Linked DNA regions of Homo sapiens: all the other regions are linked to region 3. Evidence: promoter capture Hi-C in 16 types of primary human blood cells and fetal thymus (Javierre and others, 2016). All regions are on one chromosome and are shown on one strand. The core of a region is centred on a gene start or on the middle of the fragment in contact, and the rest is flanking DNA. Distances in the headings are between cores, read along the strand shown.

Region 1 (2,700 bases), core at 38-2,537, 350 kb before region 3:
ATGCTGTAATGGTAGTGTTTAAATCATACATACCTCTAGTATGGAGGTTAAAAGTTGAAACATAAAAAATGACCAGGATAGTCATTAAGGGATACACAATATAAAAGATGTAAGTTGTGACATTTGTAAACTAAAAATAAAATTGAAAGCCCCCAACCAACTGATGGACCCTCCTCTTGGCCAAAGGCATTCCAAAGTTAACCTGAAAAACTAGTTCAGGCCATGATAGGAAGCAGAGTGGGCCATGCCTTATTATTCCCTTCTCCCTTTTGGAATTCAGGCACAGCTGACTAGCATTAACATTAAAACAGATGTTAAGACTGACAAAGCAGACTATTCATAGCAATAAGACATCAAATTCCAGCCTGACTCTAGTATAGCATCACATGACAGATAGCAGACCCTAAAAGAAATCAAAGTATTTTGCCCCAAATTATATTTCTTTGATATATTTTGAAATGGTCTTGCAAGCCTGTCTCTTGTGAGGAAAATATACTTTATGTAGACAATCCTCATTTCTTTCCATGTCTTTTCCCTGATCCAGGAGAGAATTAACTGAGTCTGGCACCTTTTTTAGGTCTGATAAGAGCTCTGAAGCCTGCTACCAGGAGGTTTCACTTGCATGATAAAACCTTGGTCTCCACAACCCCTTCTCTTAATCTAGACATTCCTTTCTATTGATTCCAGGTCTTTAGATAATAACTTTTTCAACCAATTGCCAATCAGAAAATCTTTGAATCCACCTATGACCTGGAAGCCCCCTGCTTAGAGTTGTCCTGCCTTTCCAGATCAAACCAATGTACATCTTATACATATTGATTGATGTCTTATGTCTCCCTAAAATGCATAAACCAAGGTGGAGCCCAGCCACCTTGGGCACATGTTTTCAGGATCTCCTGAGGGCTGTGTCATGAGCCACTGGTCACGCATATTCGGCTTAGAATAAATCTCTTCAAATACTTTACAGAGTCTGATTCTTTTTGTTGACACATCAAAAACATAAATGATGATGGAGACTAAAAGTTTAGAGTTTTTCGTATGTGACAGAAATTATCAGTTTAAAGTGGTAGATTATAAGATGTTTTCTGTAAGCCTCATAGTAACCAAAAAACAAACAACAAAAAAACTACAGGAGATAAACAATAAAAAGAAAGATATCAAAGCTTAGTACTACAGAAAATTATCAATTCACAAAGGTAGACAACAAGAGAGGAAGAAAGGAACTGAGCAGCTATAAAACAACCAGAAAACAAATAAGAAAATGTCAGTAGTAAGTTCTTACCCATCAATAATAACCTTGAAGGTAAATTGATTAAATTATCCAATCAAAATACATGAGTGTCTGAATGGATTAAAAAAATAAGATCCAACTATATACTGCCTAAAAAATAAGAGACTCACTTAAGCTTTAATGACACACACAGGCTGAAAGAGAAGGGATACAAGAAGATATTCTATGCAAATGGTAACCAAAAGAGAGCAGGGATAATTATTTTTATATCTGATAAAGCATATCAGACCAAGAAAAGAAAGAAAAAAGACTGGGCATCCAAATCAGAAAGGAAAAAGTAAAAATGACTACGAATTCAGTAAACTTACAGGACACAAAATCAACATACAAAAATCAGTAGCATTTTTATACATGAATAACATATATAAGAATTTTTTAATTCTTAACTGAAAAATAAATAAAGAAATTCCATTTACCAAAGCAACAAACAAAATAAAATACCTAGGGCAAATTTAACCAAGGAAGTGAAAGATATGTACACTGGAAATTATAAAACATGGATGAAGGAAATTGTTGAAGAAGACAAATAAATAAATGGGAAGATATCCTGTGCTTATGGATTAAAATAATTAATATTGTTAAAATGTCCATACTACCCAGGCAATATACAGATTCAATACAATCCCTATCAAAATCCCAGTGACATTCTTCACAGAAATAGAAAAAAGTCCTAAAATTTGCATGAAAACATAAAAGACTAAATAGCCAAAACAATTCTGAGAAAGGAAAACAAAGTTAAAGACATTACACTTCCTGATTTAAAATTATACTACAAAGCTGAAACAGTGTGGCTCTGGCATAAAAACAGACACACAAACCAGTGGAACAGAATGGAGAACCCAGAAATAAATCAAAACATATATGGTCAACTAATGGTGCCAAAGGACAAAATGGGGCAATGGCTTTTTGGGTATTACACAAAAAGCTTAGGCCACAATACCATTCTGCCCAAAGCAATCTACAGATTTAATGCTATTCCTATCAAAACACCAATGTCATTTTTCACAGAATTAAAAAAAACTATTCTAAAATTCATACAGAACCAAAAAAGAGCCAAAAACAGCCCAAACAATCCTAAGCAAAAAGAACAAAGCTGGAAGCCTCACATTACCTGACTTCAAGCTATACTATAAGGTTACAGTAACCAAAACGGCCACATCATGGTATTGGCACAAAAACAGACACATAGACCAATGGAACAAAATATAGAGAATCCAGCAATGAAGCTACACACCTACAACCAACTGATCTTTGACAAAGTCAATGAAAATATGCAATGGGGAAAGGACTCCCTATTCAATAAATGGTGCTAGGATAACTGGCTATCCATATACAGAGGAATGAAATTGGATCCCTACCTTTCACCATATACAAAAATTAACTCAAGATACATTAAAGACTTAAAGACT
Region 2 (2,700 bases), core at 79-2,578, 360 kb before region 3:
AAAGCCTGTCATTATTCTTTGGCCCAGGAGTCAGGACCTCTGGCAGCCTGCACGCCTCGGCCAGCCTGTTAATGTTTCAGTGCCTTTAAAGGACTTTCCCATCAGACTATGTTATCTGATGGCTGTGTCTCCCATCTACAGCTATGGTGGGAGGAACTGAGCTATTTACCGCATATACTCTGCAACAAAACACAATCCTGAGGGTAGGGGTTGATGAGCATTTGTTTTTTGTTTTTGCTTTTTTAAAAATCATTAATTCTTAGGCTGCACTTACAAAACTCCCTGAAAGCACTGAACATTTGAATGAATGACATGGGTTTACATGTAAAAAGTTCTTGCAGCGAGTTGTTTACACCAATCTATTGGGTCATGGAAATTTTGCTCAAGATTTGTTTGTGTGGGAATAACACTGAAATACTAGCTTGTCGGAGCCAGCTTTGAAACTAACACAATGAATAGCTATTGTTCTGACAGAATATCCGGCAGCTCATGTCTACATACACTGAAGATGACCTTCCTCTTTAGAAATAGTTCCAATCATTATATATATATTTTAAAGTGTTATTGGTGTACCCAATGTTCTAGGTGCCTGGGGAGAAGGGACATTGTATAAAGATATTTCAGTTTCTCTCCTAAAAGGATTCCACAGCTACTCTATTTGGTAAGTCAGGTTGCCAATATTACACATTCCTGGTATGAAAAGATATGTTACAGAGATAGAAAATAAAGAAAGGAAAAGGTAAGCTTGTCATTTAACACCTATTAAGTACCAGGTTCTATGTTATGATATCATTTCACTTCACCAGCACAACCTAATGAAAACAGATACTGTCCACCATTTTGCAGATGAGGGACTAAGACTTAGATTATGTCACTTGCTAACTTTAGTTAAGTAACACTAATTTAGTAAGTGTCAGAACTGGGATTTGAACTTTGTGCTGTTGATTCTAAATCTGTGCTTTCCCACCACACAGACCTGCGGTCAAGAAGACTGCCACCTAGTGGGTATGACAAGACTTAGGTATAGAAATCATCTGGAGAAAAACACAAGCAGCACATAACCAAATGTTTAATCCACATGACTCCAAGACACCTGGGTTTAATTCTACAAACAAGTACAAAGGCCTACAAAAAGCTAGGCTTTAAGCAGAGTACTTGCAGGGACATTAATGGAGTAGAAGAACTAAAGGAGGTAAAGATTTTTCTATCAATGACATATATGCCTCAGATAATCCAAGATGACTGAGAAGAGAGGTGCAATGTTGTAGGCCCAAGATGACACTGCTCACTTTTTGACGTGCTAGGCCCATTCATTTCTTACACCTAAAATTCCATCGTCTACAAGCCAACAGTCTTGCGTGGTGAGATGTGAATAAGTCCTATGCAGTAAGTCTTCACGCATTAAAGAAAATGAGAATCAGAGGTCACAAAGACAGTTGTAGCATCCATAGATAATGATGAATATAAGTCTAAAATGTGATTGAACACCTGTTAATGTTTTAGGAAATCTTTAGTTCCTAGGATGCCTGTCCTGTTTTTTGTAATCCACTGATATCCACTCTGGGAATGGCAATCGTGCTAGTTACGAAACTATAATCTCTCAGCTCTAAACTTCTATGCTCTGACTTGTGGCTCTGGGCTGGGACTCTCTTGCCTGCTGGCTCCAGAGTAGGCTCTGTCAAGGAGTGCTAGACAGAGACAGTAAGGCTGGAAAAGGAAGAAGGAACCTGCCTTTTTCTGTTTGCTTTCTGGTTGCTTCCTACTTGTCACTGCCTCTGCAGTCTACTTCTTTACCCTGGCAGAGGCAGTTCATTTGGTAGCAACAGTTGATTCTAGTTTGCAGTTTCTCTAATATTCACAAACTTCATAGTGTACAACCCCCACCACCATCCTCCCCATCCCCCAAAGCTTTTTAAGTTTTAATAATTCTGACCTCTTCCCATGTCCCTCTAGTTCTAGGGCTGTCCTTCAGTTACTACCACCATGAATACTGTAATGTACTCTTTGTCTTTTCAGTTCCTCCACACCTAGTTAACAATTCTTTATATTAAATTCTCTCTGTTAAAATAATTGATGTGGTTTCTGTCTGTTGACTGACATATAATTAATTTCACTGTTATTTAAATTAAAGCACATTGGAAAGCTATTTAGTGTATGCTAAGGTCCAACACAAATGTTTGGAATAGGAATATTTAGTTAATCTCCTGCACATAAGGCTGATGGTTCATGTCCAACTGACCATGTCCCTGCCTGGTTTAAGACCTTACAATGACCTCCCCATTCCATAATGGATAAAGTCCAAACTCCTAGCACCAGGCTCTCCATGACAATCTCTGCTCCTCTCCAGACCCATCTGCCTCAACCATGCCTTCTCTGAACCGACCATGCTGTTTTTCATACTCCATACCTTTGCCTAGGTTGTTTCCTCTGCTAAGAATTTATCTGTCAAAGCCCAGCTCAGGTGTCACCTCTTCTAAAAAGCGGTGTCTTCCCTGTTTTTATTTTCCTTCTAACAGCTAAACACTCCCTACTCTGTACTCCTGGTACTTCTAAGTCTAAATGTGCTCTCCTATCAGACCACAGGCTTCTTGAGGCCAAGGTAGACATCATATTCTATCATGTTTTAGTACCTGGTATAGTGTGGAGCACTCAGTAGGCCCTTAACTAATGTTTGGTGACTTAGAATTATCTGTAACTTTT
Region 3 (2,700 bases), core at 1-2,500:
ACAGCCTGGGTGACAGAGCGAGATTCCGTCTCAAAAAAAAAAAAAAAAACAAAAAAAAAAAGTTACTAGATGTTTTAAAAATAACAGCAACCAATTATTGAACACTAGTAAACACTAAGCTAAGTGGTTAGCTTGTGCAATTTGAATAACCATCTTATGAAAGAAGTTATCTCCATTTTACAGTTAAGTGAACTGAAGATTTGCTGTACAATCTGACCACTTTTTCCTGAGTTAAGGGGTGGGAGACCCGGCTAGTACCTACTTTTGTCTAACTCCAAAATCTAAGCGTCTACCCGCTACCAACTCCTGAAACTAAGGAATCACATGTTAGGAACTTCACAAATAAATTTTTAAAACACAAAACTATAATTTCAATAGTGTGCACTTGTCTGTTGGCATAAGTTCTTAATCAGGAATAGAATTAATATCCTATAATACCTGCTGTAGTAGATTTTCCGACTCCACCCTTTCCAGAAGCCACAACTATAACTTGTTTAACACCTTCTATCGGTTTCTGCTTTGGAAGTCCTCGGGACATGATTTGTGTTCTTCTTTGTTTTAGGGTCTCACTCCCGGCGCCAGACAACTTTAAAAAATAATAATAATAAAAAGCCGTTTTAAATAAGCCATCTCCATCATCACACTGTAAAAGCAAAAACAATCTGGGGTTTGCAATTAAGAGGGCTTTCTTTTCTAATTCTGCTCATCTTCACTATGGAGACATTTACCTACTACTACTGATAACAATTGTAAAGACACATTGCTTAAATTGAAATTTTTCTAGCAGGATACGCTGAACGTTTAAAAATGTAAAAACGCTGCCTCTTTACGGAGATAAGGCTTCCACGTGTTTTGCTTTTCTTCAATCTATTTGATAAATAACCCAAAGCCAAGAAAGCAATGTAGAATACCACATCTACGTTCTAACTGTGTTTCAAGTCCCGCCACGCCTCAGCCTGGGCCTGCCTGAAAAGTAGGCACGTCCAGCACACTGGGGGTCTCAGGAACTGAGGCGAGTCTTTGGCAAGAAGCAATGCCAGGGCATCTGCGGCCCTGCAGCCCAGCATCTGTCAGCCCGCTTCCCCCTGCCCTGCAGCACCACGGACCTGGCGCCCACAAACCATCGCTCGGCTTCCCCCAAGCGGGGCAGTGGCCCCGCCACCAGCCCGGAGCGACACCCCACCAAAAAGCAGCAGACGCTGCCAAATCCCCATGACGCGGAACGCTGCTGTGAGCCCTGCTGGGAAACTGTCGCGGGTGGCGCGGAGTGATGACGTCACGGAGCAACGCTCGGCTTTCTCTTCCTAGCAACCGGTCTTCTTTGGGTTTGTTGGCTCAGGAACCCAATCTGCATGATCTTGTTTATAGCCAGCTACAAACATTTTGCAGCGTTTTACTAAACGTTTGTGAAGTGTTGTCATATAAAACATCTCTTATGATACTTACAGAAGTCCCGAGGTAGACAGAAGACTTACCTAGTATACTCTTTTTATGGACAAGAAAACGGAGAAAGTTTAAAGAGACTTGACCCAGCTTAACAAAAGTAGGAAATGGGGGACCTTGAAAATGACCCCAGGATTTCTTACTAAGCAGTATATGGTCATTTAAATACTACCACCGTTAAGGATTTTACCTTTTTATTTTATTTTTTCCCGTGTGATCTACAGTGAGAGTCTGTTTTGCGTTGGTATTCATGGCTTGTGTTGCTGACAGTTCCCTGAAAGAAAGGTCAGGTTGCTTTACCAGCAACCTGGTAAAGAACTTTGCAAGTTCTTCCAGACTTAAGACTCATTTATTTAACAAATATTCGTTGAGCAACTACTATGTACCGAGTACTACAGTAGACTTAAAATATTCAGCATTGAGACCGACATAATTCCTCCACTAAAGGGCTTTATAATCCAGTGCAAAAGACAGAATAAGTTAACAACAAAATTGCGGTATAATATGATAAGTACAGGAGAAAAGCATTGAGGGATACAGGAGAAAGGACAAAGTGATACAAAGAAAGGGCACTCAATTCAATCAGGGGAAGCTTCTAAATTAGGTAATATCTAAGCTGAATGCTGAATCTGAATAATGTGTAGAAGTTAGCTGGGAGAATGGCAAGGAGATTGTTGTAAAGAGGTTAGAAATGGACTGCTAAGGCTAGGCATGGTGGCTCACGCGTGTAATTCCAACACTTTGGGAGGCCAAAGCAAGAGGATTGCTTGAGCCAGGAGTTCAAGGATGCAGTGAGCTATGATTGCACCACTGCACTCCAGCGTGGGCAGCAGAGTGACACCTTGTCAGAAGAAGAAGAAAGAAGGAAGGAGGAAGGAGGAAGAGGAAATTAAAAGGAGAAGAAAGAAGAAGGAAGAAGAAAGAAGAAGAGAGTAGAAGGAAGAAAGATGAAAGAAGAGAGAAAAGCCCCCGCCCGGCCAGCTGCCCCGTCCGGGAGGGACGTGGGGGGCAGCCCCCATCCGGTCAGCCGCCCCGTCCCGGAGGGAGGTGGGGGGCAGACCCCGCCCGGCCGCCACCCCGTCCGGGAGGTGGAGTCACCTCTGCCCGGCCACCCCGTCTGGGAAGTGAGGGGCCCCTCTGCCCAGCCGCCACCCTGTCTAGGAGGTGTACCCAACAGCTCATTGAGAACGGGCCATGATGACGATGGCGGTTTTGTCGAATAGAAAAGGGGGAAATGTGGGGAAAGGAAAGAGAGAT
Region 4 (2,700 bases), core at 108-2,607, 330 kb before region 3:
AGGGTGACAATATGGGGTACAATCAAGGTCCTAGCAGGAAACAGATGGCACACTCAAATTAGGTTAATTCATGGAGGGTTTCATGAAGAGGCTATTTACAAAGGTTTGGGCAGGGGGTAGCGAAACCACAAGTGAGAGCACGATACCCCAAGGCTGGTAAACAGCAGGCAGTGACCAGCCCTAGGCCTAACTGCTCAGAAAGGAAAGGATCCTGAGGAGATGGCTGTGTTGACTTGCCTTTGATAGAGGGATGCAGTCAGCCCTGGACTACGCTGAGGAATCAAACACTCTGACCTTGCTCTCCTCTCTCTTCAGATCTGACAACCAGAAGCCAGAGAGTAGAAGGGCACATACAAGTCATTCTCCCAGGGCCGAAAGTGAGGGAGGTTGGGGAAGGTGGAGAGTGGATACTGAGAGGTACATGGAAGCTGGCTGGTAAAAGTGGGAGGGCCAAGAGTTCAGTCTGGATGTGCCAGATATATGAGTTCAATTAGTCACCAAGAAGAGGCATCAGGTAGGCAGCTGGATCTATGACTGCAGTTCCAGAGGAAGGCCTGAGCTGGAGATGCATTTGGGACTCACAGGCTTTTTAAAGCCACAAGGCTGATCACAAAGATTATCACACTGTGACATACATCACACGGCACTGGGTGGAGCCATGGGCGTCAAAGCTTGACTGCAAAGAGAATGGGAGAGAGAAACAGACACTGAGTGTGAACAACTCTTTTAAATAGTTTTTGCTGCAAAGAAGAGAAAGAAAGTGGGGAGCAGCTGTTAGGGGAAGTAAAGTCAAGGAAAGGTCGACTTTTTTAAGAAAGGAGAACTAACAGTAGGTTTGTATGCTGATGGGAATAATCCAGGAAAAAGAGTAAAACTAATGGTAGAGGAGAGGGAGGACTATGGCAAGGAGAAGAACAGAGTTCCCTGAATTAGGGGGCAGCTGCCACTCAGCTCCAGCCAATGGTTTACAGTCCTCTCGTTTCTCAAGAGAAGTCAGAAATTGGTGTTTTTTTGTTTTGTTTGTTTGTTTTTAAGCACGAAGTCTCCTGATATTTAGCAGGAGATATGTTGACAACTAATTACATTTTTTTTCAAACTTTCTGAAGTTGAATGAAACTCGTCTGCAGGCCACCGGTTGGCAACCTCTCCTAGATTGCTGACTTTGGTTCCTTCCATAGTTATCAGGTGTGGCCTCCTGGTTTAGGGACCTCTGAAGGTCACTGGCTATTTACTGTCTAAAATCTTTGAACCTGTAAGTGCCCCTGCAGTGGTGCTTGGCCAGGGTGGCTAATGATATAGTCCCTGTCCCCTTCACAAAGGGCAGCGGAACTGAGGTTGCCAGACCTAGCCGCACATCCTATACTTAAGTCCTCACAGTTAATACTTAGGCTTCATGTATGCTGTTTACCTCCTCCCGCCTCCTCCTCACTGAGGAAACTATTATCTGCAGGCCAATGCAAATAAAGGTCACCAAGACACACTCACGGGCCAAACACTGAATGCTGGCATGCTGGAAGGGTTGATTGTTTGTAGGCTCCCAGCTAATAAAGGAAATGCCAATCAAAGGGGGCCTTCTCGCCTGCTCCCAACTCAAATGCAGCCCTGGCTGCCAGTGAGAGCTGCAAGCAGGACAGCACTCAGATTTCTGAGGATGCCTGGCACCTGCACAGAAAAATCGCAGAGTCTGGTGATTTGACAGTCTGTCCCTGACCTGGGGAGGACACAGGGCCTGCTAGCCAGGAAGGAAGGAGTGCTGACTTCAGTCATATGGCAGGCTTCCTCCAGAGGCAAGAGTGAGGAGGAAACCCCACCTTGTGAGGGCTGCTGTGTTTTTATATGCACATGACTAATCTTTATGACAGGGTTAAATCCCAGACCTCTCCAATTTTCCCCATGTGAACATAGCATTAAAAATGTTTCTCAGGTCACAGTGCTGGTTTCCCCTTGTGGCACCTGCCTCCTCCTGGAAGTGTAATGTAAGCCTCAAAAAAACCTGTATCTTAAATATTTCTTCTCACTTAACAATAAGTAACTCAAGCTTTAGGTGAGGCAGAGACAGCTTTTATCTCTGAACCATTCCACTCTCACTCCTCTTTTGGTTTAGTCCTATGTAGAACAAGACAGGAAATGGACACACCATCCTGTCACACCGCTAACCCCTCCGTCCTCAAATCTACCTGGCAGAATAAAGGGAGGGAAAAAAAGGAGCAGAGAGTTCCCCATCAGAAACACTTTTCAAGGTCTCCGCCATGGAATCCAAAATAGTTCTTCCTGTTCTAAGTGAGAAGGAAACTGGTGGAGCAGGGTGGTGGGGGGCAGATTTATCAAGAGCTCCCTATGAGGGGAAGATTCTGGGAAGACAGCAGTAGTGGCAAGCATAGTCTTTCAATCTCTCCAAGTCCCCACATAAAAATAGGAAAACAAGATAGCAAAACCCAAAACCCATGGACAACACTTATAACAAAATGAGATGAAGGGGTATCCCTCTGAGCCCCCAAATATAAGTGAGTAGAAACAAACTACCAGAAATCCCTAAACCTGCATGGGGCCTATCAGTGCAGGAGGAAAAAGAGGAAAGCAATGGGGACTGTGACTTATGAACCTGAGAACAGAAAAACCACAACAGGTATTCACTGGAAAACAGAGGACCAATGTGAGAAGAGCAGTTGAAACTGGGAGGTGCTGCCCTCTCCAATAACA
Region 5 (2,700 bases), core at 69-2,568, 500 kb before region 3:
TTCAGCTCATAGTTTTATTGCTTCAGGCCAGGGAAAGGAGTCGGTAGTCTCCAAAGACCCGTTTTCCACTTTAAAATTTTCTGATTTTTGAAGCTGTAGAACAGGCCTAACAATAAAAGTGATAAAGAAGATTAACTTGCATTTGTGACTATAGCAGACAGGTTAGGTAGGAGAGGGTGCAGGGATAATACAGGAGGAAGTCCAGGAAGCATGGTCAAATGGCCGACAGTTAAGTCATCTTCCAATATTTTTCCAAAACTCTATGGCCCTGGTTCCTCAATCCCCTTTGAACATTATTTATAACTTTCCATGTGAGAGGTTGCAATATATCCCCATTCTTAGAAAACTCCATGCCCATTTAAAAACACAATTCAAAACATGACCACTACAGTTGTAGCCTGAATGTCTCATTTTTTCAACACTTTAAACGTCAGACTTCTTAGATGTCTCTCTTTATCCATTAGAAGTGAAATCATGGAAGCATTTTTTTTTAAACCCCAAGATGGGCAAGGTGGCTCACACCTGTAATCCCAGCACTTCGGGAGGCCAAGGCAGGTGGATTGCCTAATCTTGGGAGTTCGAGACCAGCTCGTCTCTAATAAAATACAAAAGACTAGCCTGGCATGATGACATGAGCTGGTAATACCAGTTACTCAGGAGGCTGAGGCAGGAGGATCACTTGAACCTGGGAGGTGGAGGTTGCAGTGAGCTGAGATTGTGCCATCGTACTCCAGCCTGGGCAACAAAGCAAGACTCTGTCTCAAAAACAAAAACCAACCAGCCAACCAAACAAACAAAAAAACAGAAAATATACATCAAATTTAGCAGCAATCCTGTCGTGGGGCTTCAATAGAACTGGATTGCAATTGTCTAATCTACTGAAAAGTACTTTATTCCATTTTTGCCTGCCTCTTCAAATCCATGCCATGGGATAATTTTTTAAGGGACTACTTCATTTGAATAGTTAAATTATCCTTGGACGTTGCACAAGATAGAACAAATATAAAACTGAAACTGAACTCAGCATTAAAACAAATCATTATGATAAAAACCCAAGTAATAAGACATCATTAAAACTTTCTGATTAAATTAACAGAAGTGGCACAATTTTTCCTTTGTCTTCCTTCTTTATGAAGCTAAAGCTTCTTTATGATGACATCTGAATGTATTTGAGGGATCAGTCAAACCAGGGTAGAGTTCCAACCTCCTATTAAACAGGGAAGAATAACAAAACAAAGGGCTATTATTATTAAGTGTTGCAATAGACAGTTCAAAGTGGCACTCAAAAAATTGGTATGTCCTTTAACCATTTATATGAGTAAGTATATGTATATGTACATATATCTATAAATTTAATATATGGGAAAAGGTTTGGATAGATGCACACTTGCAGAGGAAAGTGGATAGAGTGCAAGGAAAAGGGGTAAGGAGATGGCAAAGAAGAATTTGTAACTTAGGCTTTTATGCTGTTTAAATTTTTATGATTAAAGCTTGTTTAAAATTAAAAAACATAAAACAAAACCAACCAAGTCTGGGAGTCATGATTACACCACTGCATTCCAGCCTCAGCAACATAGCAAGACCCTATCTCAAAAAAAAGAAAGAAAGAAAGAAAGAAAGAAAGAAAGAAAGAAAGAAAGAAAGAAAGAAAGAAAGAAAAGAAAGAAAGAAAGAAAGAAAAGAAAGAAAGAAAGAAAGAAAGAAAGAAAGAAAGAAAGAAAGAAAGAAAGAAAGGAAGAAAAAACAAAACATACCAAACCAGTATGCATCAATTATTAATCAAGAGAAAAGAACAACATTAGTGGATATGGTGGCTTGTGTCTGTAGTCCCAGCTACTCTGGAGACTGAGACAGAGAGGTACTTGAGCCTGGGAGGTAGAGGCTACAGTGAGGTGTGATTGTGCCACTGCACTCCAGCTTGGGTGACAGAGTGAGACCCTGTCTCAAAAAAAAATCAGGCTGGGCGCGGTGGCTCACGCCTGTAATCCCAGCACTTTGGGAGGCCAAGGCAGTTGGATCACCTGAGGTCAGGAATTCAAGACCAGCCTGGCCAACATGGTGAAACCCCGTCTCTAATAAAAATACAAAAATTAGCTGGGTGTGATGGCAGGCGCCTGTCACCTATAGTCCCAGCTACTCAGGAGGCTAAAGCAGGAGAATTGCTTCAACTTGGGAGGCAGAGTTTGCAGTGAGTTGAGATCGTGCCACTGCACTCCAGCCTGGGTGACAGAGCAAGACTCCGTCTCAAAAAAAAAAAAAAAAATCAATAGCCAACTGATAAATGGAAATGAATGAATAGAGTCTAGTTTAGACTCAGTGACACATCAGGGTATAGACCAGAGCTCTGCTTTAAAATCTGTTAAAAAAAAAAAAAAAAACCAAACTGGCCCCAGCACTTTGGGAGGCCAAGGTGGGAGGATTGCTTGAGGCCAAGAGTTCAACACCAGCCTGGACAACATTGTGAGACACTGTCTCTATTAAAAAAAATAATAATAATAACAAAACAAAACAGTACAACAGTAACAAAAAGCCTAAAATAAAGAAAGTTAGGGTCCATAGCATACATTAGAGCAGGCGTACTAGAAGTCTATTGGAAAAGGTTGAAAACTATCTTGGTAGCAGCTTCTTGTTCTTTTCTTGCTATCAGATAAGGTACTTTCAAACATTGAATTAGGTAACCCAAAAGCATAACATCTCTGA

What was found. Contacts are between HindIII fragments. The CHiCAGO score rates a contact against its expected background, and 5 or more counts as called.
Region 1: a contact is called between a fragment that was not itself captured here and the fragment with the promoter of NUBPL in region 3, in 2 of 17 cell types (M1 macrophages and M2 macrophages). The highest score is 5.7, in M1 macrophages.
Region 2: a fragment that was not itself captured here is called in contact with the fragment with the promoter of NUBPL in region 3 in 2 of 17 cell types (endothelial precursors and M2 macrophages); the score reaches 6.1 in endothelial precursors.
Region 4: a contact is called between a fragment that was not itself captured here and the fragment with the promoter of NUBPL in region 3, in 4 of 17 cell types (M2 macrophages, M1 macrophages, endothelial precursors and 1 more). The highest score is 6.2, in M2 macrophages.
Region 5: a contact is called between a fragment that was not itself captured here and the fragment with the promoter of NUBPL in region 3, in 2 of 17 cell types (total B cells and total CD8 T cells). The highest score is 5.6, in total B cells.

The regions. Positions count from the first base shown.
Region 1 is chr14:31,908,476-31,911,175 of GRCh38, reverse strand. No RefSeq gene overlaps it. Among named protein-coding and RNA genes, the nearest start is that of LINC02313, 35 kb to the left of the region's middle. The HindIII fragment of the contact is 243 bases long and covers 1,166-1,408 here.
Region 2 is chr14:31,924,544-31,927,243 of GRCh38, reverse strand. No RefSeq gene overlaps it. Among named protein-coding and RNA genes, the nearest start is that of LINC02313, 19 kb to the left of the region's middle. The HindIII fragment of the contact is 1,164 bases long and covers 747-1,910 here.
Region 3 is chr14:31,559,954-31,562,653 of GRCh38, reverse strand. NUBPL (NUBP iron-sulfur cluster assembly factor, mitochondrial) reads right to left here and starts at 1,250. Exons shown (of 11, transcript NM_025152.3): 1 at 1,107-1,250; 2 at 439-586. The coding sequence starts at 1,214. NUBPL-DT (NUBPL divergent transcript) reads left to right here and starts at 1,323. Exons shown (of 3, transcript XR_943720.2): 1 at 1,323-1,543. RefSeq lists enhancers at 526-1,081, 1,008-1,407. The HindIII fragment of the contact is 6,263 bases long and covers 1-2,037 here.
Region 4 is chr14:31,892,400-31,895,099 of GRCh38, reverse strand. No RefSeq gene overlaps it. Among named protein-coding and RNA genes, the nearest start is that of LINC02313, 51 kb to the left of the region's middle. The HindIII fragment of the contact is 1,367 bases long and covers 674-2,040 here.
Region 5 is chr14:32,055,430-32,058,129 of GRCh38, reverse strand. It overlaps LOC105370440 (a long non-coding RNA gene), which reads right to left. Exons shown (of 4, transcript XR_943727.2): 4 at 750-1,207. Among named protein-coding and RNA genes, the nearest start is that of ARHGAP5-AS1, 20 kb to the left of the region's middle. The HindIII fragment of the contact is 348 bases long and covers 1,145-1,492 here.